4 separate regions of the Homo sapiens genome follow, and regions 2, 3 and 4 are each linked to region 1. Evidence: promoter capture Hi-C in 16 types of primary human blood cells and fetal thymus (Javierre and others, 2016). All regions are on one chromosome and are shown on one strand. The core of a region is centred on a gene start or on the middle of the fragment in contact, and the rest is flanking DNA. Distances in the headings are between cores, read along the strand shown.

Region 1 (5,771 bases), core at 2,148-4,647:
GTTTCCCTCTGTCACCTAGGCTGGAGGGCAGTGGTGTGATCATGGCTCACTGCAGCCTCGACTTCGAGGGCTCAAGGGATTCTCCCACCTCAGCCTCCCAAGTAGCTGGGACTACAGGCACATGCCACCATGCCCAGCTAATTTTTGTATTTTTAGTAGAGACAGGTTTTCACCATGTTGCCCAGGCTGGTCTCAAACTCCTGGGCTCGGTGATCCACCCACCTTGGCCTCCCAAAGTGGTGGGATTACAGGTGTGAGCCACCACGCCTGGCTGGGGAGAAGTTTTAATTTTCCTTCTACTTCCAAACCATGGCCAAAGGCTATGGGAACACAAGAAAGGGGGTATGGGTAGCCCTGGTGTTTCCTCACCTACTGGCTGCACAAAACACCTGGCTAGAGTTCTGAAATGACCACTGCCCTGTGCATGAGGCCTAAATACACCCCTACAACCTGGGATGCCTCACAGGACTCTCCCCAAACAGGAGGGAGGCAGGGCAAAGGTTTATGATCTTCTTAGCTAAGCAACTGGTGGCTTTACCAGTTGTTCTAAGGAAACAAAATTTCAAGCAACTTCTGCAGATGAACTTTCCAGGATGAATTTCAGCTGCTTTATGTGCATACCCTTTCCACTAGTTAGTAAAAATGACCAAAACACGACTGTTGCAAGACTTTTCTCTCTAAATCTGTGGTTCTCAAGTAGGGGTAATTTTGCACTCAGGGGACATTTGGCAATGTCTGGAGAAATTTTTGCTTGTCACAGTGGAGAGAGGGGAGGGTAGAGGGAGATGCTACAGGCATCCAGTGGGTGGAGGCCAGGGAATGTGGCTAAAAATCCTGCAATGTGCAGGACAGCCTCCAACAACAAAGAATTTTTGGCTTCAAATATCAATAGTGCTGCTGCTGAGAAACCCTGCTCTAAAGACTTGGAAAAAAAAATGAGATTTAGGTTCATCTGTGACCAATATTACCAGTCATATCACTCCTGAATTTCACTTTAAAAATTCATTAGCTGATCTTCTTACACATCATCCCTAAGAAGTAGATTAAGAGTAATAATGGCATTTACTGAGTTCTTACTATGTGCTAGGTTCTGGGATAAGGACTTTATATACTTTATCTCACTGTTGTCCCTGTTTTCAGAAAAGAAAACTGAGCTCCGAGCAATGAAGGAAGTTGCAGATGCACATAAAACTTAAAATGGCAGAGGGAGGAATCAATGCAGACATGGAGTTCTGAAGCTTTTGCTGTTGCTCTCAGTGCATTTCTAAGGAAACCCAACGGTATCCATTTCATTGACCAATTGCTTTGTACCCAAAATTTTATTTTTCATAAGAGTTTTTCATTTTCTGACAAAAACTATTTGTTAAATAAACATAACTTCATAATTCTGATCACATCACTTGGAGCAAATTTGACTGATACATTTTAAAACACATGGATTAAAAAAAAAACTCCTTCTTTCCCGAAAAAGGAAAAAAGGAATGTATTTTTCATATTTTCATCTCCAATTTAAGGAATTCATTTTTGGAACACATATTATGCTTTAAATGGTGGTGCCAGGTAAAACTGCAAGGAAGCTTGTGCTATCTGGAGACACCCATACTTTTTTTTTTTAAGGACCATTTTGTAACTTTACAACAGCATATTGCATTTTTATATTCATGTGCCTGTCTCCTTCATTGTCCTGTGTATTAGTTTTCTACTGCTGCATGAAGAATTTAAACAGACCTAACAGCTTAAAACAACACCCATTTAATAGCCCACAGTTCTGAAAGTCGGAAGTCCCAGCACAGCCATGGCATCACTGGGTTCTCGCTCAGGTTCTGCGAAGGCTGCAATCATGGTAATAGTCAGGCTCAGTTCTTGTCTGGAAAAGACAACAAGTTTGAGAAAAAAATCTGCTTTTCAAGCTCATTCGGGTTGTTGGCAGAATTCAGTTCCTTGCAACATTGGCCTAGGCAAATAATTTATGACTAAAACCCCAAAGGAAGTGCAACAAAAACAAGAATAGACAAATGGGCCTTAATTAAACTAAAAAGCTTCTGCACAGTAAAAGAAACAATCAACAGAGTAAATAGACAACCTACAGAATGAGAGAAAATATTTGCAAACTACGCATCTGACAAAGGACTAATATCCAGAATCTACAAGGAACTCAAACAACTCAACAAGAAAAAAAAAAAACCCATTAAAAAGTGGGCAAAGGACATGAACAGATATTTCTCAAAAAAGACATACAAGTGGCCAACGAACATATGAAAAAATGCTCAACATCCACTAATTATCAGAGAAATGCACATTAAAACCACAATGAGATACAATCTCACACCAGTCAAAATGGCTATGATTAAAAAGTCAAAAAACAGCAGATGTTGGTGAGGGTGCAGAGAAAAGGAAACATATATACGTGTTGGTGGGAATGTAAATTCGTGCACAGTGCCTGGTTCAGAAGACACACTTTACAGAAAAAAGCTGGCTGAATGTTTATAACGTGTCTGTGTTTGTAGTGTTCAAGTCCTGAGGGCGAGGACCCTAGTGCATTTTCTGCAATCCAGTAATGCCTGTCCAGTATATGGCAGCCAGTGAGCACTCAACAGGTGCAATCGTTGGGCCACACACTCTTGTTTTAAAATGTGCTTTATCCTCTTGACCTTTTTAGGTTATGCAATGTGAATTCAAGCTGAATAATACTGAAGCCAGTCTTATGAGGCTCATTTCTAAGAAATATTCAGCTTTACGTAACGCAAATAAAAAATCACACACGCCCTTTGCAAGTGAACATTCATATTAGTGTCTGATAAATGCATTAAGAAGACACATTCCCTTAAATCAATCGGAGAACAGAACTTTGGTTTCTGCAAAAAGAAAAGCTCCCTTTTCCTTAGATTTTCTCAGCTCCTCCACTGCTAGCCCCAGACAAGGTCCAAGTTATCTGCAGTTCTATGGCCTCCCTTGCATTTAAATCGCATTTGGGCAAACGCTTCCTGGGCTTTCTAACTCCACAGAAACGCTAACCAGGTATTGGGCGCTCGCACCGCTTCCAGGTAACCCGCGGAGCTGCGGATTCCAGGCTCGCGCTGTGACGTCACCGGGCTCGCAAGCCGCGGCGCGGTCTCAGGCTCCGGTGATTGGCTGGGGCCCATGACGTCACGGCCCGGGGCGGCACCGCGATGGCCAGGGCCCCGGGATGCTCCGGGTTTGTTTAAAAATAAAGGGGGGGCGGGAGCGCCCAGGAAAATCCGGGCGCCCGCGGGGGTGCCGGCCGCTCCTCCCGCCGCCCCGCGTCCCGGCCCGGCCGCGCCAACCCCCACGGCGGCCCGCAAGGGGGCGGGGGGAGGCGGGGCGGAGGAGGAGCCGCGGGCGCGGCGCCGCGCTGTCCCCGGCCGCCGCCCGCCCCACTCCGCACCGCATGTAAACAGTCCCAGCCGGCCCAGCCCGGCCCCGGAGGAGCCCGCGCAGGCCGAGCCGAGCGCCGCGCTGCCCGCCCGGGAGGAGGGCGCCTAGGAGCGGGAGGGCGGGCGGCGGCGGGAGGCGGGCGCGGGGCCGCGATGGATTTCCAGCAGCTGGCCGACGTTGCGGAGAAATGGTGCTCCAACACGCCCTTCGAGCTCATCGCCACCGAGGAGACCGAACGCAGGATGGATTTCTACGCCGACCCCGGCGTCTCCTTCTATGTGCTGTGTCCGGACAACGGCTGCGGCGACAATTTTGTGAGTGCCTGGAGGAGGGACCGCCGGAGCCGGCGGGAGTGTGGACGCGGCGGTGCGTCCCTGCGCCCGAGCTCCCGCGCGGTGGGCGGCGGTGGGCGCAGAGTGGGGGGCCGTAACCCGCGCCCCGCGCCCCGCGTGCTCCGCCGGGGAAGCCCCGGGCCGGGCGGTGCGGGCTCCGCTGCCCGGGTGGGGCCCGGTGGGCGGCGGGCAAGGCGCCCGGAGGATCCGGGGAGCCGGGTCGGGGCGGGAGGTGTGGCGTCCCCCTAAAGGCCACTCCTCTCCCCGCTGCTGCGGGCGCCGTTTCGGGAACCCGACCTCGCGGCCCGTGCGCGGTGCCTGGCATGGAGCATCCCTGGGGTGTGGGTGTCACCCGCGTCGGACCAGCCGGGTCTGGGGCGCACGGACCCTCCGGCAGGAGCCCAGGTCCGGAGCTTCCCACATCCAGGCGTCCCGTCCGGGATAGGAATCCCGCTCCCCTCCGGTGCCCAGCCTCGGCTCCTCGCATTGCCCCTCCCGGGAGAACCCCACTCCCCGCCCTCGCGGGTTAGTCCTTGCACTGCCTGTTTGGACACAAAGCTCTGTCCATACTAGCGATGCCCGATCTCCTGGACCTTCTTTGCGGAATTACACCCCGGATCTTAATACGCACGCGCGCCTGCGCATACACCCCAACACACACACACACATGCTCACACCCTCACCCTCACACGCGCACACTCACGCGCACACGCGGCACGCCTCTCCCCCTGCCCCCGCGCTGCCCTCGCTGCCTCTCTGAGCTGCCCGAGAGGTGTGTGTGGCCCGGGCGGGTTCTCTCCAGCCGAGGCGGTGCCCTGGCCCTGCTGAAGCCCGTTGGCTTTTCCAGATGACGGGGAATCCCCTCAGCCCCGGCTCAGAGGGACCGGGAACTGGGACTGCGGTGTCCAAACCTTCCACTTTGAATCCTGCACCCACCTGGGATCCCGACTCTGGCAGTTGAGGAAGGGGATGCGGAGGGCAGGGGAGTCGGGGTGGGAGGGGTGGAGTAGGGCGAGCACGGTGCTCATGAAGTGTTTCCAAGGTCGGGGAATAAATAATGATCCCCAAATGTAAGATGGAGGCGGCCGTGGGCGCGGGTGACCGTGTGGTCGCGGGCCTTGTGGGCGGAGGTGGGGTGGTGCGGGGCGCGGCCTGGTGCACGCTCCTCAGGTGGGGGAGACAAAGCTGGGCCGTGGTCCTGCCGCCGAGCGCCCTGACCACCTACGGGAAGTTCGCGAAGGAGTTAGGGAGACTGCAAGACCGCCTTTCTTGGTCCTGGAGAGGTGAAGGCTTATGTATGCCTGGCCGATAAAGCATTCCCTCCGCCCACACGCACCCCCTGAGGAGGGCAGGGATCCACCTGGGCATTCCACAAGTGGCACTCCAGAAGAGGGATGGCCTTGTGTGACAGCCAGATTTGAGTTCTGGCTCTGTGACTGTGCTCAAATACCCACCCTGAGCTCAGTTTCCACATCCAAAAAAATAGGTATAATAATGCCAGCACCCAGGCGTTCATATAGGTAACGCACCGAATAGTCCCTAACACACAGCAAGAGCCCCACAAATTTGGGGTTAGAGACCTGGGGTTTCCCAGAATTTAGAGCTTGTCTCATTTTTTAAAGAGCCTTGGTTTTCCCACCTGTAAAATGGGGCTAATCAGAATACCTCCAGAAGAGCCAACTGAACAATAATATTAATGCCTGTAAGCCCATCTTAACTGTAGGTAAAGTAAGTAAATAAGTGTTCTTTTTGGAAGGAGTGGGAGATCATTAAAAAGGGATTCACTCCATTGCAAAAGTGTGAGAAAGCCCCCAGGATACAGTGGAAAGGGCACCAGAATCCAGCTGACTGTAAAATGTTAGGGTTTGGCTAGGGTCCCTTCCAGCTCTGGGCTTCCTTCATCTGCCAGCGCCCTTTCTCCCTCCTGACCGTGTGAAACAGGGCAAGAATGGCTCATGGTTCTGGATTTCACTGGGGAGAAGCCCACACAGCCTTCCTGCTGGGACCGCCCAGGCCATACCCAAAGAAATGACTCCAAAGACA
Region 2 (5,434 bases), core at 2,700-5,199, 310 kb after region 1:
GTGGCTCACGCCTATAATCCTGACACTTTGGGAGACCGAGGTGGGTGGATCATTTGAGGTCAGGAGTTTGAGACCAGCCTGGCCAACATGGTGAAACCCCGCCTCTACTAAAAATACAAAAATTAGCTGGGATTGGTGGCGGGTGCCTATAATCCCAGCTACTCGTGTGGCTGAGGCGAGAGAATCGCTTGAACCCAGAAGGCAGAGGTTGCAGTGAGCCGAGATCATGCCACTGCACTCCAGCCTGGGCAACAGAGCGAGACTCTGTCAAAAAAAAAAAAAAAAAAAAAAAAAAAGGAAATCCTGTCCCATGCTTCCATGTGGACGAATCTTGAGGACATGATGCTAGTGAAATCAGCCATCCCCAAAAGGCAAATACTGTATGATTCCACTTACATGAGGTAGAGTAGTCAAAACCATAGAGAGAGTAAGTAGCAGGGTGGCTGCAAGAGGCAGGGGGGAGGGGGACCGGGGAGTTATTGCTTAATGGGCACGGTTTCAGTTTCGCAGCATGGTGAAAGCTCTCCACTATCTCTCCCCGACAGCGAGCCCCAGTGGTCCTTCTGGTGTACTGATGTATGAAAAGAACAGCAAGGCCCGCCCCCCACACACACAGCAGGTTGTACCACATACATCCATCCCCTTCTACTCACCCAACCTCAGAGATTGATTTGCTGTTCTTCACAGCCAGGGCGAGATACTTCCCTCCTTCACTTGTTATTTTGTTTTTTCCCAGTCTGCAGAGAGAGTCACACACAGTCAGCCTCCAGCTATGCAGGGGCTCCAATGTGGGTCACCCTCCTCCCCAGCACAGAGCCCCTTCCAGCCCCATCTTGGGAACCGTACACTTTCTTCTGGGATCCACAAGAGCCATGGCCTGGGCCTCCTGTCAGGGAGGGAACTGAAGCCCTGAGGACAGTCAGTCAGGGTTCCTCTCCAGGAGATGGTCCACAGTCTCTGCAGAAGCTCAGGGACCTGAGCCCTCCCTGGGGTCCTCTAATTGACCTCAGCAGCATCACTGACTTCCCTCGGGAGACCTGGGAGGTCCCACTTTGACTGCCAAGGGTCAAGGTATGTGGCCACTGTCAGGGCAGGACCAGAGGCTCCAAGCCTGGCGCACTGTCACCCCCTGCGCAGGGCACACCTACAGCAGGGCAAGGGCCCAAGCTCTTCCTTGCAACCCGACAGGAAACTCCCTTGGGGCAAAAAGACCACCAGAAAGGGTGAGAGTTAGTCCTTTCTTCGGCCTAGTAGTTAATGAAATCAAAATGCCAACCTTTCCCCCTACCAATAACGGGAGGCCCTTCCAGAATCCAAGCCTCACAGATCACACAGAGGTATCTTTACTTGACCAACATGGCCCTGGGACAAGTGGAAGGCTTTAGGATGAAAGCTCTTTACTGTGACATTTAATCTTTGAACAACAGAAGGGGGTGATCAAGAGAATATACTAAGGAACCTGGTGCCTACCCCACTTACTTAAGATGCGTGAGGCCTTTGCATTCATCCAGGATTTTGGTGACGTACCTGGCTCCGACATCGGTGATCTGGTTGTTGTATAAACTTCAAGAGAAAGCACAGCCATGAGACTTTCTGGCTCCTGATGTCATTTTAATAGCCCCTGTTTTTTGAAGCATATGGTGTCTACTGATTTCCAAAGTCTGGGTTGAAAGGGGAACACACAGGCACCAGAGTTTAGGGCTCTGAGGTCTCACAGCTCAGGTTCAAAACCAGCTCCACTACTTTCCCCAGCTTTATGGCCTGAGACAAGTCACGTTACCTCTCTGTGCCTCAGTTTCTCCATCTGTAATACAGAGGTAATGATGATAGTCCCCTTGCAGGGTGGTTATGAGGATCTTAGGACATAACGCAAAGCCCTGGTGCATGAGTGCTCGGTGACTGGCAGGTGATGGGTATTTACAACTAAGATTACATTCAGCGTCTTGAGAAGAAAAGATTCTGAATATTAAAACTTCTCGATGTCTACCTTTCAGCCATCTCACCGCTCAATGCCAATTCAATAGTACAGCAGATGGAAGTTGAAAGGCAGCTAAGCTCAGGCTTCCAGGGTTCCACAGCCACACAGAGCCCTGGAGCCGAGTGTGGCCCGGGGTCGTTTGCGTCCATGTCCTCATTAACATCGAAGGCCACTGAGGCCCCAAGAAACTGAACAACTGCTCCAGCTTGCAGAGCCACCAGTTGTGTGGGGCTGGCCCGCAATCCCTTCTCTCAGACTCCAAAACCTCAAAGGCTCTGAATGCCCAAAGTTTCTCACAATTCTTTTGGCAACTGATGTGGAGCTACTTATAGTCTTTCTTACCACACTTGGTTTGACTGTTTCATACATTCTGCGGGAGAAATATGAAAGTGTTTGAAAATGGGGCACTGCCTTAGACCCCTGCGGCCACGTCATGCCATAGCATGCACTCAGAATCCCCATTCGGGTCTTGCCCCAAAGGCTCTGGATGAGGGATTATGGACCCAAAATAGTCCAGACTAATATGTAAACAGGATTCTAGCATTTATTAAATATATCCCCTTATATTCTCGTTGCATCCCCCAATAACCAGTTGTAAGCCTACTTGCCTATACTGGGATCCCAGTTTTACAGGTGAGGAGGCTGAGGCTCAGCAAGACTTCATGACTGGCCGAGCCACAAAGAGAACCCAGGACTCTCAACTCCTGGGCCAGCGCTCTTCCCAGCCCTGGGCCATCCGTGCCGATCATCCAGGGACCTATGGGAATGTGAATTCCCTGCAGCTCTGTATTATTACTAGGTAGTTGGCCCAGTGTTCTGGAGAAAGACATACCCCAAATAGGTCACAATTTTGTATTTGGTCAGCTCTTCGCTTAGCACCTTTACCCCACCGTCAGTGATCTGGTTTACGCTGAGTCTGAAATAAAACAGCAAAAAAATTACGAGTCAGGGCAGGCACTCATTATGAAGGACCATTAATCTTACAAAGATCCAGAAGCCTTCAGGCCCTGGAGTTTTCTCAGGTATAGACGCCCCTGGAGAATGGCCACAGCAATCAGCCAAATAGCCCCTTACAAAGCCTGGCCAACGTGGGGCCGCCAGACCCATCCTGCACCAGCCCATGAGCGAGGCTGCAGCACAGCCCCTGGCTCCTCACACGACCGTGAAGGACACAGGGAGGACGTGTGAGGCCAGCCACCTCTGACATCCACCCTTTGCGTGTGACCTATGTGTCAGCCAGACCCTGTACCTGGTTCTCGTATGGTGGAGGGCATGGGTTTGGAAATGTCAGGGGCTGCTTTTAGTGGTTGTGACTGGAGGAGGGAGTGCCCTGTCATCTTGCAGGCAGGGCCAATGATGTTAGGTGTCCTGCAAAATGCTGGACAGGTCTCACAAGAACTGTTATACCCAAAATGCCAACAGCTTCCCCCCATCCAGAAACACATGGGCTAACCCTGATTTGTCACTGGAAAAGGCTGTGAGTCCCACTGTCAAAGGAGACTGCTCATGTCATTCTGTAAAGTGTCAGACAGCAAATATTTTAGGCTCTGTGGGCCATGTGGTCTCTGTCACAGCTACTCAACTGTGTAGTGTGAAGCAGCCAGTAAGTAAATAAATGGGTATGGCTGCGTTCCAATAAAACTTTACTTAGAAACACAAGCCTTGGGCCCAATTAGACCCACAAGCTGACCTTGATAACAAGTAAAAGGCTGAACAATTAAAAGCTTGATTTTTAGGCCACATCAAAATGATCAAGTCAGACACTCTGGACCCTTTCCCTCAGAGTCCCCAGCTTGGTGCTGGGAAATAGTGTGTATGTACATGGCATGGCCAGCCCAAGACAGCACAGGCTGCTAGACATTCCCAATATCTATACTTTCTTAGCAATAGATTCCCCCATCTTTTAGCTGGGCCCATCTCATTAAATTCTGCCCATACCATTAAGTTCTGAAATCTAAGCAGCAATATAATTAGTAATAGCCAAGAAGTGTTCTTAAAAGATTGAGGCATGCTCTCAATCTTTGCCCTTCCTTCTTACTGATAGCTAGAGTGTCGACTAGATGGCTGGAGTTTGAGCAGCCCTCTTGGGCCAAGATGGGAAAGCCGGGTAGTGAGGATGGCAGAACAGGAAGGCAGAAGAGAGCCTGGGCTCCGGAGGGTCATGGAGACTCCATACCAGTCCTGAACTACCTACCTCTAGACTTTTACATGAGAGAAATAAGCTTGTAACTCACCAACATTTGGGGTTTTCGCTCTCAGCTAAAACTAATCCTAACTGATGCAGCCAGAGAACTGAGTGTGCTTCCCGTGGTTACCCATATCCTCTGCTTTCCTACAAGCTGTTTTTTCTTGCACTGGTGTGAAGGAAAGCTTCACCTGGGGACAGCAGGAAGGGCAGGGCCACCACACTGGTGTGGAGTTTCCCATTGAAAAGATGGACAGAGGGGTCGGGTGCGGCGGCTCATGCCTGTAACCCCAACATTTTGGAAGGCCGAGGCGGGCGGATCACCTGAGGTCAGGATTTCAAGACCAGCCTGGCCAACATGGGGAAACCCCGTCCTACTAAAAATACAAAAAACTTAGCCGGACATGGTGGCGTGTGCCTGTAATCCCAGCTACTCAGGAGGCTGGGGCAAGAGAATCGCTTGAACCCAGGAGGCGGAGGTTGCAGTGAGCTGAGATCACGCCACTGCACTCCAGCCTGGGCAACAGAGCGGGACTCCATTTGGGGGAGAAAAAAAAAAGATGGACAGAGGGTGGCACTGAGTGTGAGACTGCCTGGGGCTACAGAGGGAGAGTCACTGGCTGAGAGTACAGAGAACAGACTCCAGGTTTTCCAATTCCCAGGCTAGGGCAGCCTTCGACCCCCTGCACCCCATGTCCCCATGCAATTATTTACACTCTGACACTGGTGTGACAGGCACTGGGAGTCAGTTCCAAATCCCTACTGCTTTTTAGAAATGCATGAGTCAAGTAATGGCAAATTTAACCCCCTGTAGAGATTTACAAGGTTTATTTTACATAGGAAATGCTAATAGAAGAAAACAGACTGGGCTCTGTTTCCCGTAAACTATGGAACAGGAAAACAACCACGAGTCAGCATTTTAACTGAGGTCTCTAGCAGTGTGAAGGGCTGCTAGCGTTGATCACAGAAAGTCACCAGTGCCAACTGGCACAAGGTCTGCTTTCTCTGCAGTAATAAAAGCTCCCATATTCCAGAAACTTTTTGAGGGCTATCTCGGAGCCTTACATTAATCTTAAAAGGAAGGTTCTTTATGCATTCTGGCACTGCTATGTCTGAGCTGTGTGACCTAAAGCAAGCTATTAACTTCTCTGTGCCTCTACTTCCTTATCTGCCAAAATAGAGACAATAACAGTACCTAAGTTACAGGGTTGTAAAGAGCATTCCATTAGGTAATATTTGTAATGCACTTCACCCATTCTCAACTAACATTG
Region 3 (5,529 bases), core at 12-2,511, 300 kb after region 1:
GGCTGCAGCCAGGATCTGGTGCTCCCAGCCATACCCCACAAGGGCTAGGGCCCCTGGGTTCAATGGCAGAGGTAATGACCTTCCCTTTCAAAAGGGACAAAAATAGAACCAGGAAGTGGGCACCAAGTTCTGTATTCAGTTACACTCTGCTGTTTTCTAGTCACCACTTAGGCTTTTTTGAAGGCAGGGAAGGCAGCCTCCAACCAAGATGTGGCAGGAGGCCAGGAAGGAGAGCACCTAATGCCCCTAAAAAGCCTGCAGTGTCCAGGCACATCCACCCACTCGGGCTGCCTTCACTAGGGCCAGTGCAGGTTGGGAATGCACAAAGCAGCCAAGACTCTCTTTCTGACCCTGTCCTAGCTCTGCTCTCCCTGGAGAGGCTGGCCTGCACTTAGGGAATGGGATCAAATAATTCTGCAGGCTAAAAAGGAAAGAAAAAACAATATGTAGCAGAGTCTAGTCTTTTTGCAGAAATTGACAAGGTGAGTCTGAATTCATAAGAAATGCAAAGAACCCAGAATGGTCTAAACAATCTTGAGAAAGAAGAACAAAGTAGAACTCACACCTCCTGATTTCAAAATGTACTACACAAAGCTACAGCAATGGTCCTGGCATAGGAGAGACATATAAATCAATGGACCAGAACAGAGAATTCAGAAATAAACCCATACATTTATGGTCAATTGATTTTTGACAAGGGTGTCAAGGCCATTCAATAGGAAAAGATAATCTGTTCAACACGTGGTGCTGCCGGGACAGCTGGATATCCACGTGCAAGAGAATGAGGTTAACCCTCACTTTACACTATACAAAAATTAACTCAAAATGGATTGCAGACCTATATGTGAGGGGAAACAACTATAACGCTTAACAGAAAACTTAGGTGGAGTTCTTTGTGATCTTGGATTAGGCAATCATTTCTTAGATAAGACACTGAAAGCACAAGCAACCAAAGAAAAAAATAGATAAATTGGACTTCATCAAAATTAAAAACTATTGGCCAGGTGCAGTGGCTTTTCGCCTGTAATCCCAGCACTTTGGGAGGCTGAGGCAGGTGGATCACCTGAGGTCAGGAGTTCAAGACCAGCCTGGGCCTAAATGGTGAAACCCCATCTCTATTAAAAATACAAAATGAGACAGGCATGGTGGCTGATGCCTGTAATCCCAACTACTCAGGAGGCTGAGGCAGAAGAATCGCTTGAACCCAGGAGGTGGAGGTTGCAGAGAGCTGAGATCATGCCACTGCACTCCTGTCTGGGTGACAAGAGCAAGACTCCATCTCAAAAAAAACAAAAATTAAAAACTGTTGTCCTTTAAAGGTCACTATCAAGAAAGAGGAAAAACTCCACAGAAAGAAAGAAAATACTTGCAAAACCTGTATCTAGTAAAGGTCTAGCACCCAGAATATATAGAGAACCCCTATAACTCAGCATTAGAAGACAAACCCAATTTTAAAATGGGCAAAGGATATGGAGACATTTCTCCAAAGAAGCTATACAGACTCCCAGTAGGCACATAAAAAGACATTCAACATTGTTGTCATCAGGGAAATGCAAATCAAAACCACAATATTACTTCACATCCACTAGTATAACTAGATTTTAAAAGATGGACAATAATAAGTGTTGGTGAGGATGTGGAGAAATTGGAATCCACATACATTGCTGGCGAGAATGTAAAATAGTACATCCACTTTAGAAAACAGTTTGGTGGCTCCTCAAAAAGTTACAGAATTGCCATATGACCCAGAAATTCTATTCCCAGGTATATTCCCAAAAGAGATGAAAACATATGTTCACCCAAAAGCATGAACAGGAGTGTTCACAGTAGCATTACGCATAATAGTCAAAAAGTAGAAACAACCCAAATGTCCCATCAACTGATTAATAAACTGCAAAATTTCCTTAGAGTGAATTATCATTTAGCCATAAAAAGGAATGAAACATGCTAGAACACAGAGACAAAAGGTCACATATTGCTTGATTCCATTTATATGAAATGCCCAGAGTAGGCAAATCCATAGAGACAGAAAGCGGATTAGTGGTTGCCAGGGTCTGGGGAGGAGGACAGGGAGTGACTGCTTAATGGATACCAGGGCTTTTTGGAGTGGGGAGGAGGAGTGAAAATGTTCTAGAATTAGGTGGTGATGGTTGCACTAAAAACCTCTGAATTGTATACTTTAAGAGAGTGAATTTTACAGTATGTAAATTTTATCTCAAAAAATACTTTTGAAAAGTAGCACAGTCTGAAATTGTAAGGCTCTCTGAGTTACCATAAATGCTTTAACGTCTGGTTGACTTTCAACATTTCTGCCAAACTCTCTGCCACTTCATCGTTGAGTTCATTTTGGGTCAGCCTAAGGAAAAAAAAGGAAGTATTTACTCAAGAGAGCCTACTTGGCAGACATTGTTTTAGAGTTCACAGGAGCGGGAGCTCAGCCCAAGGCTCTCCAGCTATGCAGATGATCACTTGCTGAGAACCCAGAAAACAGCCAGGCTCCAAGCCCAGCCTGTCAGCCCCACAGAAGGTCAATGGGACTCATTTTTAATGCAAATCCTGTACCTGGGCTCCTATTTCTTAGCCCAGCTACCTGTAGAGGAGCCCACCCTCCCTCCCCACCTTTGCTGAGCCCTCAGATTTCATGGAAGATGGGGGCCCACGGAAAACAAAGGGCCAATGCCTGCTTCTCAGTTCTCCTCTAGTCCCAGGGTCCCTTGAACACCACTGACAGTGTGTTATCCAAGTTAGTTTGAAGACCTGAAACAGTCACTGACTGCACATTAAAATGTGTTCAGTACTTTGCTCTCAGTTAACTTGTGAGGGACCCAAGTTAAGTGACTGAAAGTTCAGGAAGTCTCTCAATGGTCCTTAGAACCAGAAGTGGTCTGGATAAAGCACCAAAGCTCCTTGGTGTAAACAGGGTAGGACCCACTTGTGCCAGTGGACGAAAGAATCATTAGGAAGAAGAATAGAACAGAAAGAACATTTAAAAAAAAAAATTCCTTGAAGGGCAGTTTGGATGTGCCTGCCCAAATTTTTAATGTGCTTCATTTTAAGACAATCAGACTTCTAGAAATTTACCCTACAGTGTGCAAGGATATACACACAAAGCTTTATACATTGCAGCATGCATTGTGGTATTATCCTAATGTAAAATCTGAACAAATTTAGATCAGAAACAACTGATGAAATATATTGTGATATCTATTCGAGATGTTGTGCAGCTTGTAGGGAGAATGAGGTAGAATGAGGAGGGAGAAGAACACAGCATTGACATCTACTCCGGACTCAGCCTGGGCAGGTTTGTATCACCCACCAGCAGGGTGACCTCGGGCAACAGGCTTAAGTTCTTTGGGTCTGAGTTTTCTCACTGGTGAACGTTAACAGTAGAGATCGTATAGAGTGGTTGTGAGGCTGAGTGAGTTAACACAGGGAAAAAGTGTAGAATAACACATGGCATGCAGTCAGCACTTGAGGGCTTCTAGGTGTTGACATTACTACTATCCATGTGATTTCACTCTCCATGGGGCACCTGGCCATGTCCGGAGGCATTTTTGATCCTCACCACTGGGAGGTACAGGGCAGAGATGCGGCTAAACCGTCTATGATGCACAGGACAGCCCTACCATAATAAAGAATCACTTGGACCAAAATGTCAACAGCATCAAGATGGAGAAACCCTAAAGGAGACATGTAAAGTATGTGATTACAATATTTTTAGAGCCACTGCTTGAATGCTATTCTGTTTTGCATATCTTTGAACATACATAGAACAAAAGGCTAGAAAGGAAAGGTTATTTTGGAAAACACAAAGGGAGGTACTTTCACTTCCTCCTTTTAGCAGGAACTTTAGGAGGTACTTTCATGTCCTCCTTTAGTGTCTTACATTTTTTCCAAAAAACATAAACTACTTTTCAAAATGTTAAATGATTTGTTGAGGGGAAAGAATTTAAAATGCACTTACTGGACAGCAGGCCTAATGTCAAAACTCTCTCATGAAGAGGATATTGTCATTATTCTCAGTAACTAATTTAGCAAGATCAAATGAGCACTGGGCTCTGAGTAGATGATAGGGAGGGTTGTAATACAACTCCCTCACTTAACCTGTAAGGAATGTTTTTTTTTTTTGTAGATAGAGGGTCTCGCTATATTGCCCAGGCTAGTCTCGAACTCTTGGCCTCAAGCGATCCTCCCACCTCAGCCTTCCAAAGTACTGGGATTACAGATGTGAGTCACTGCTCCCAGCCACCTGTATGGAATTTATGATACAGAGATGTAAATACAAATAAAGCAAAATAAAACATTAAGTGGCCATAAAAAAGGGAACACCAACAAAAAACACTCTCAGGAGGCCACATCCACTTAGTAAGTGCCCTAGAGTGCAGAGAGGGAGCGAGGACTGTGGGCTTCAGGTGACAAGTGACAGATGAGCTGGATGGAGCATAAAGGCCAAACCCTGATGTGAAGACCTGGGGAAGGAGGAGGCTGCCTGGGGGAAGGCAGATGAAGAGGAGGAAGGGAGAAAATTTTGAGCCAAGTGTGTGGAAGTTGGCCTCTGCTAAGCACATCTGAAGGTATCCAAGGATACCTGGATAGCTTGCATGGCCAGCGTTCTAGTTCTCCTGGGGCCTAGAAGGCCAAGGCCTCAGATCCAGGCTCCCGGAGCCCACTTCCTCCTCCTGTACCTGTTTATGCTTGTAGAAGTGGCTATTCTCTTCTCTAGGAGGAAATTATCAACTTAACTGAAAGGCCTAGAGCCTTTCCAATTGGGAGACACCTTTTCTGTTAAGATTCCAGGCCATGTGCAGCCCCTGGGATAATTCCTGGGACCTAAACCCTCCAAAATGACTCTGTGCCAGGTGCAGTGGCTCACACCTGCAATCCCAGGGCTTTGAGAAGCCAGGGCAGGAGAACTGCTTGAGCCCAGGAGTTCAAGACCAGCCTGGGTAACATAGCAAAACCCCATCTCTACAAAAAATTTTAAAATTAACTGGGTGTGGTGGTGCATGCCTATAGTCTCAGGACTCGGAAGGCCAAGGCGGGAGGTTCGAATGAGCCTGGGAGGTGGAGGCTGCAGTGAGCTGAGATCACACCAATGCACTCAAGCCTGGACGACAAAGCAAGACCCTATCACAGAAAAACAAACAAACAAATGAAATGACTCGAGCTATTACCACAGTATTTCTAGAGACGTGTTCTGCTGCAGGGCCCTCGCAAGGCTCTTTCCTCCTTCTGTGGAGATGCCGTTGGACGCAAGACTAGGAAGGAACACACTTGGGGTGAATTATTAAAGACACATCTACATTCAATCTTAGCTTCAACATCAGAACAGCTGGGAAGCCTCTGCCTGGCTGTGGCCCCAGCCCAGGCTCACTCGGGGCAGGATGCAGAAGTGTTCAGCTGCAGCAGTAGTGCCCAGGCGCTGCTGCCCCAGAGCCCACACACAGAGCACAAGGGCAGGCTGGACGGGAAATGGGTCATCAGCACAGCCTGCTCACACAACAGTGGGCTGGGGTCGGCACCTCAGGT
Region 4 (5,652 bases), core at 745-3,244, 460 kb after region 1:
GAAAGTTTTTCATCCTATATAGGTAATATTTTGTTTGTTTACTCAGATGACCTATTCCACCATATTACTATAAATATGGAATTAGTATAAGTTGTTGGAAGTTAATAAAATAATTCAGAAATATTAGCAAGGAAAAAATTCCAACTGTAAAGAGAAAGGCAAAGGAAGATGAGCCAGCAGTGACTGAGAAGAATGGTCAGAGAAGTGGGAGGAAAACTGAATAATGTTTTTATTTTTTTTTGTAAGCGAGAGGAGAGAGATTTAAGAAGGTGGTCAATTTATTGGTTCTTCTGTGTTCTCAGTACAAATCTTGCTCTTTCCTACTTTTTAATCAATGCTTTTGTCTCCTCCTTTTTCACCCCTCTATACCCAAAGGAAAAAATTCACCATGTGAGCAGTTATTTGTTAACTTGCCCGTGTGTTCTTCTAGATTATTAAATGAAGAGGGCAGAGACCTTGATTCATAATGATCACTCACATAATAAACATTTGAATTGCATCATTCTTTTTTTTTTTTTTTTTTTTTTTCATTTTGAGACGGAGTCTCACTTTGTCACCCAGGCTGGAGTGTAGTAGCATGATCTTAGCTCAGTGCAACCTCCGCCTTCCGGGTTCAAGTGATTCTCCTGCCTCAGCCTCCCAAGTGGCTGGGATTACAGGTGCCCACCACCACGGCCGGCTAATTTTTGTATTTTCAGTAGCGATGGTGTATCACCATGTTGGCCAGGATGGTCTGAAACTCCTGATCTCAGATGGTGAGGAGGGCCTTTCAAAGTGCTGGTATTACAGGCGTGAGCCACCACGCTTGGCCTGAATTGCATCATTCTTACATAGACTTTTTAAAAGGCACGCTTAAAAACACATTCCTAACATTTCTTAACTTCTGAAACCAATCCTGAATATAAATTCTCTTTCTTGGCTAGGGAGATCTTGTGCGAAAACTCAAAGAAGATAAAGCACCCCAAGTAGACGTAGACAAAGCAGTGGCTGAGCTCAAAGCCCGCAAGAGGGTTCTGGAAGCAAAGGTGAGTCCTGGGATGCTAAAATAGGAACATAAGTAGGTATAGGATTGTTCATCTTTAATTTCTTTGGATGGGAGAGACCTAGAAAAGTTTCTGAACAAGTATCATTTGGTTTATCTGTTTATCCATAATGCCGCCTTCTCCTTTCCCTCTACCTGGTAGACTCCTCATCCTTTCAAAATGCAACTCAAAATGTCAACTTTTTAATAAAGCCTTCCTGACCCTGCAAATGCTGGACTCAATACGCTATATGAATTTCCATGGAAAGGATTGTGCTCTTCTTTACGACTTCTCTTATGCCTGAAAATAATGATTTTTGTTTGTTTGTTTGTTTTAAGGAAAAGGTCTGTTTATTTGATACCTGCTCCCAGACCTTTCAAACAATAGATCTCCCATCACCAAACTTAAGTTGTTTTGGGGTTTTAAAGTAACCATTTTGCTATAGCAATCCACTGACAATTCAAATATTGCTTTATATTGCTTATCAGTATCTACATCAAAGTAAACTTAGTCTTGTTTTTTTTTTGAGATGGAGTCTCGCCCTGTTGCCCAGGCTGGAGTGCAATGGTGCGATCTCAGCTCACTGCAACCTCTGCCTCCCGGGTTCAAGTGATTCTCCTGCCTCAGCCTCCCAAGTAGCTGGGATTACAGGTGCCCACCACCAAGCCCAGCTAATTTTTGTATTTTTAGTAGAGACAGTGTTTTGCCATGTTGGCCAGGCTGGGCTTGAACTCCTGACCTCAGGTGATCCACCCACTTCGGCCTCCCAAAGTACTGGGATTACAGGTGTGAGCCACCGCACCTGGTCAAGCTTAGTCTTGTAATCTTGGAAATGATCATATATTTTCCTAAATGATTAAGTAAAGATATCTTTTATATTACTCAAAGGGAAAAAAAGACCTATGGCTTCTATTGTTTTTAACCTATCAAAATCTTGTCTGTTTGATAAATTTTATATTTAATTCTGGTGAGGAATAAACTAAATTCAGATATATAAGTTCAGATTCCCACCCACCCCTCCACTCACTCACTTTTTATTTAATCTCTAACAGGAGCTGGCGTTACAGCCCAAAGATGATATTGTAGACCGAGCAAAAATGGAAGATACCCTGAAGAGGAGGTTTTTCTATGATCAAGCTTTTGCTATTTATGGAGGTAAGGGATTAATGACAAAAAGAACTATTGTGTTGTTAGTGGCTCTAATATTATACTTAAATCAAGAACATGGCTTGCCTGTTGGTATCCACTTGTATCAGGCCACAAAGCAGAGGATGGATGTTTTGCTTTTGTTTGCTTGGAGTCACCATTTGGTGTGATACCTGTTATTTTTCTCCACTGCATTTATTCCTGGACAGCACTTTTTTTGATTAGGATGTAGGGAATTGTTGGAGGCCCATGTATGTATTTGATGTGTCTGTGTACTCATGTACTCTTTTTAAAATGCAATGGAGACTGAAGAGTAACAGAGGGCCATTGTAGTACTGGCTAACTATACTATGCCCCTTCACACAGGGGCAGTGATAAAACAGTCCTTAGATTATTCTTTATGGTCATCTGCCAGGAGAAAACATTCTTCCCAGGGATGTAGATAAATCACTGTGAATGCCATATGAAGGTATATAGGCAAATACAATTCACTGATGAAATGTAAAACTATATTTTTCATAGTCAACGGATTATTACAACAACATTAGACATATAGTACTTTGCCACTGAAAGTTGACTTGAGTTTGGCTAAGTGGATCTGTAAATGTTTACCCTTTTGAGGTTAAATAGTGCCTCAAATACCCAGGAAAAAATTAGAGAATTGGATGCTAAAATTATAGATCATTGTTATCAGATGTGGTGAGAAATTATTTTGTAATTTTTACGGCAGAAAACTGTAATCTGCTTTTTCATTCTGTTCTCTAAGGGGGAACTTTTGTTGTAGATTTTGGGCTAGTCCTACTTGAAATTACAAATATAGAATTAGTAAATGGCGTAAGAGCTTTTTTATTTTACTTCCATCAGCTAGCTGAAAGTAAGGTTCTTCAGTATTGAGGGATTTGCATTGTTGACTTGAATACACTTTTAGGGAGTATAGGTATCAGTTTCTCATGTCTCCTTGCCTTCATTTGTTCAGAGTAACAAGGTAAAGTATGTGTTTTCCTCTCATATTCTATAGGTGTTAGTGGTCTGTATGACTTTGGGCCAGTTGGCTGTGCTTTGAAGAACAATATTATTCAGACCTGGAGGCAGCACTTTATCCAAGAGGAACAGATCCTGGAGATCGATTGCACCATGCTCACCCCTGAGCCAGTTTTAAAGTGAGATCTTACTTTGGAGTGGGGGTATCCTACTTTAAATAAAATAACTTATTAAATTATTTAATATACTTATCTAAATAACTTCCTGATTATAAAGAACTACTCATTTCATGTAGAAAATCTGAAAAATATGGAAAAGCAAAGAAATGTATACCTTCTGCTCACAGATAGCTATGTTAAGATGATTGTGTTTGTCCTTCCTGTTTTTTCTGTACGTCCCTATGTATTTCAGTGTTAGCAGTACACTGCTTATTTTCATGTAATATTGATGAACATATACTCATATCATTAACTATTCATCTAAAGCATTTTTAATGATAGCATAGTATTCTGTTTTATGGAAGTGCCATAATATGTTAGTTTGTGCCATATTGAAAGCATTAAAGTGTTTCTCATTTTTGACTGCACCGAATATCTTGATAGATGGATTTTTGGGTATATCCTTGATTATTTCCTTAATACAAGTTCTGAGCAAAGGTATACTTGTAGAGATTTTCAGTTAAATACTATTTGTTTTAAAGTTTCAATGCAGAAACTTAGATTATTCCTACCAACGTTATTGAAAGTAGGGCAGAATTTCCTTTTTTTGTGTGTGTGAGATGGAGTCTTGCTCTGTCGCCCAAGCTGGAATGCAGTGGCTTGATCTCGGCTCACTGCAAGCTCTGCCTCCCAGGTTCACGCCATTCTCCTGCCTCAGCCTCCCAAGTAGCTGGGACTACAGGCACCCACCACCACGTCTGGCTAATTTTTTTTTTGTATTTTTAGTACAGACGGGGTTTCACCATGTTAGCCAGGGTGGTCTCGATCTCCTGACCTCGTGATCCGCCCGCCTCGGCCTCCCAAAGTAGGGCAGAATTTCAGAATGTGAAACTGAAAGGAATTCTTTTATTTATTTATTTATTTTTTGAGATGGAGTCTCGCTCTGTCCCCCAGGCTGGAGTGCAGTGGGGCGATCTCTGCTCACTGCAAGCTCCGCCTCTCGGGTTCACGCCATTCTCTTGCCTCAGCCTCCAGAGCAGCTGGGACTACAGGCACCTGCCACCGTGCCTGGCTAATTTTTTTGTATTTTTAGTAGAGACGGGGTTTCACCATGGTCTCGATCTCCTGACCTCGTGATCCGCCTGCCTCGGCCTCCCAAAGTGCTGGGATTACAGGCGTGAGCCACTGCGCCCGGCCTGAAAGAGGAATTCTTGCCATTTTGTAACTCGTCATTATTCATTTAAGGTTGACTGGTGGAGAGCTAATTTTTACTATTGGCATCCGTTAGGTTCTCTTAATAATTTCAGCCAATGAAGAGGAGGAATTCTGAATGATGGCTCTATAAGATCAGGACTACCTATCATTTTAGCTACTTGTTCCACCAATAGGAACTTTGTAGAGATAATACCAATGTCAGTACAGGTTTCAGTGGCAGAAAACACTTCCCTTAAGGTTCAATGTCTATACTGAGCTGCCATGAATTCTTAACTAGTCAAATTCCCAGTGATTTTGGCCTTTGCTTAGATCACTAATAATAATGGCATAGGCATGGATTAATTGATCCTGAAGAATAGTACAGACTTTATGACAACTTGTAGAAAAGAATTGTCTTTTTATTGTCTAGTTAATGTCTTCTTTCTTATGGGAAGGAAGAATGTGGGAGAGGGTGAGAAATAGATTTGAGGAAGAATTTTCTCTGGCATCCATTACTGTCATGGATACATCATTACTATAGATATGGGAGCTTCCATCTTTGAGATGGATATAAATATTGATGGGGAATTATCTTATAAGGTAATATCTATGTGTAATTTGTATGAGAATGACAAATTGGGTTGGCATTTGTTAATTTAGGACCTCTGGCCATGTAGACAAATTTGCTGACTTCATGGTGAAAGACGTAAAAAATGGAGAATGTTTTCGTGCTGACCATCTATTAAAAGGTGAGGTTCTTCATCTCCTTCAGGTAGGATTGATCAAAATAAAAGGTTTAAACTTTCTCTCAGATGTCTTTCATTAAATTTTTTATTGAGGCATAACATTCAAAGAGCAAAGTGCACAGATCTTAAGTATATAGATCAAGTCCTTTATTTTTTAAAAAAGTTATATGTAGATAATTAGTTATATACAGATAATTTTTCTAATTAGCAAATGAATCAAGACAATACCATGACTGCTGTTGTAAAATCAACTGTGGGATTCATGTAAATTAAGAACTTTATGCTTGGATTTACTTTTTAATTGTCTAGCATTGAAACTGAAAAGTGCATTGTCCTTTTTCCCATTGATTGATATATGTCAACACTGTTCTTACAGCTCATTTACAGAAATTGATGTCTGATAAG

What was found. The method cuts DNA at HindIII sites, captures the fragments that hold promoters and counts their contacts. A CHiCAGO score of 5 or more calls a contact.
Region 2: a fragment that was not itself captured here is called in contact with the fragment with the promoter of MTURN in region 1 in 2 of 17 cell types (monocytes and neutrophils); the score reaches 5.9 in monocytes.
Region 3: a fragment that was not itself captured here is called in contact with the fragment with the promoter of MTURN in region 1 in 1 of 17 cell types (naive B cells); the score reaches 8.3 in naive B cells.
Region 4: a fragment that was not itself captured here is called in contact with the fragment with the promoter of MTURN in region 1 in 1 of 17 cell types (neutrophils); the score reaches 5.2 in neutrophils.

The regions. Positions count from the first base shown.
Region 1 is chr7:30,131,589-30,137,359 of GRCh38, forward strand. MTURN (maturin, neural progenitor differentiation regulator homolog) reads left to right here and starts at 3,398. Exons shown (of 3, transcript NM_152793.3): 1 at 3,398-3,710. The coding sequence starts at 3,549. It overlaps LOC105375216 (a long non-coding RNA gene), which reads right to left and starts at 3,126. Exons shown (of 3, transcript XR_927146.3): 1 at 3,016-3,126; 2 at 1,729-1,867. RefSeq lists silencers at 3,296-3,545, 3,316-3,693, 3,886-4,025, 4,346-4,525. The HindIII fragment of the contact is 5,435 bases long and covers 2,038-5,771 here.
Region 2 is chr7:30,445,488-30,450,921 of GRCh38, forward strand. NOD1 (nucleotide binding oligomerization domain containing 1) reads right to left here. Exons shown (of 14, transcript NM_006092.4): 7 at 2,811-2,894; 8 at 1,480-1,563; 9 at 654-737. Among named protein-coding and RNA genes, the nearest start is that of NOD1, 31 kb to the right of the region's middle. RefSeq lists a silencer at 352-511 and an enhancer at 4,039-4,539. The HindIII fragment of the contact is 498 bases long and covers 3,701-4,198 here.
Region 3 is chr7:30,430,824-30,436,352 of GRCh38, forward strand. NOD1 (nucleotide binding oligomerization domain containing 1) reads right to left here. Exons shown (of 14, transcript NM_006092.4): 11 at 5,175-5,258; 12 at 2,273-2,356. Among named protein-coding and RNA genes, the nearest start is that of LINC01176, 43 kb to the left of the region's middle. RefSeq lists an enhancer at 3,460-3,599. The HindIII fragment of the contact is 3,695 bases long and covers 1-3,109 here.
Region 4 is chr7:30,597,873-30,603,524 of GRCh38, forward strand. It overlaps GARS1 (glycyl-tRNA synthetase 1), which reads left to right. Exons shown (of 17, transcript NM_002047.4): 2 at 924-1,025; 3 at 2,075-2,177; 4 at 3,187-3,328; 5 at 5,162-5,250; 6 at 5,624-5,652. Among named protein-coding and RNA genes, the nearest start is that of GARS1, 5.8 kb to the left of the region's middle. The HindIII fragment of the contact is 326 bases long and covers 1,832-2,157 here.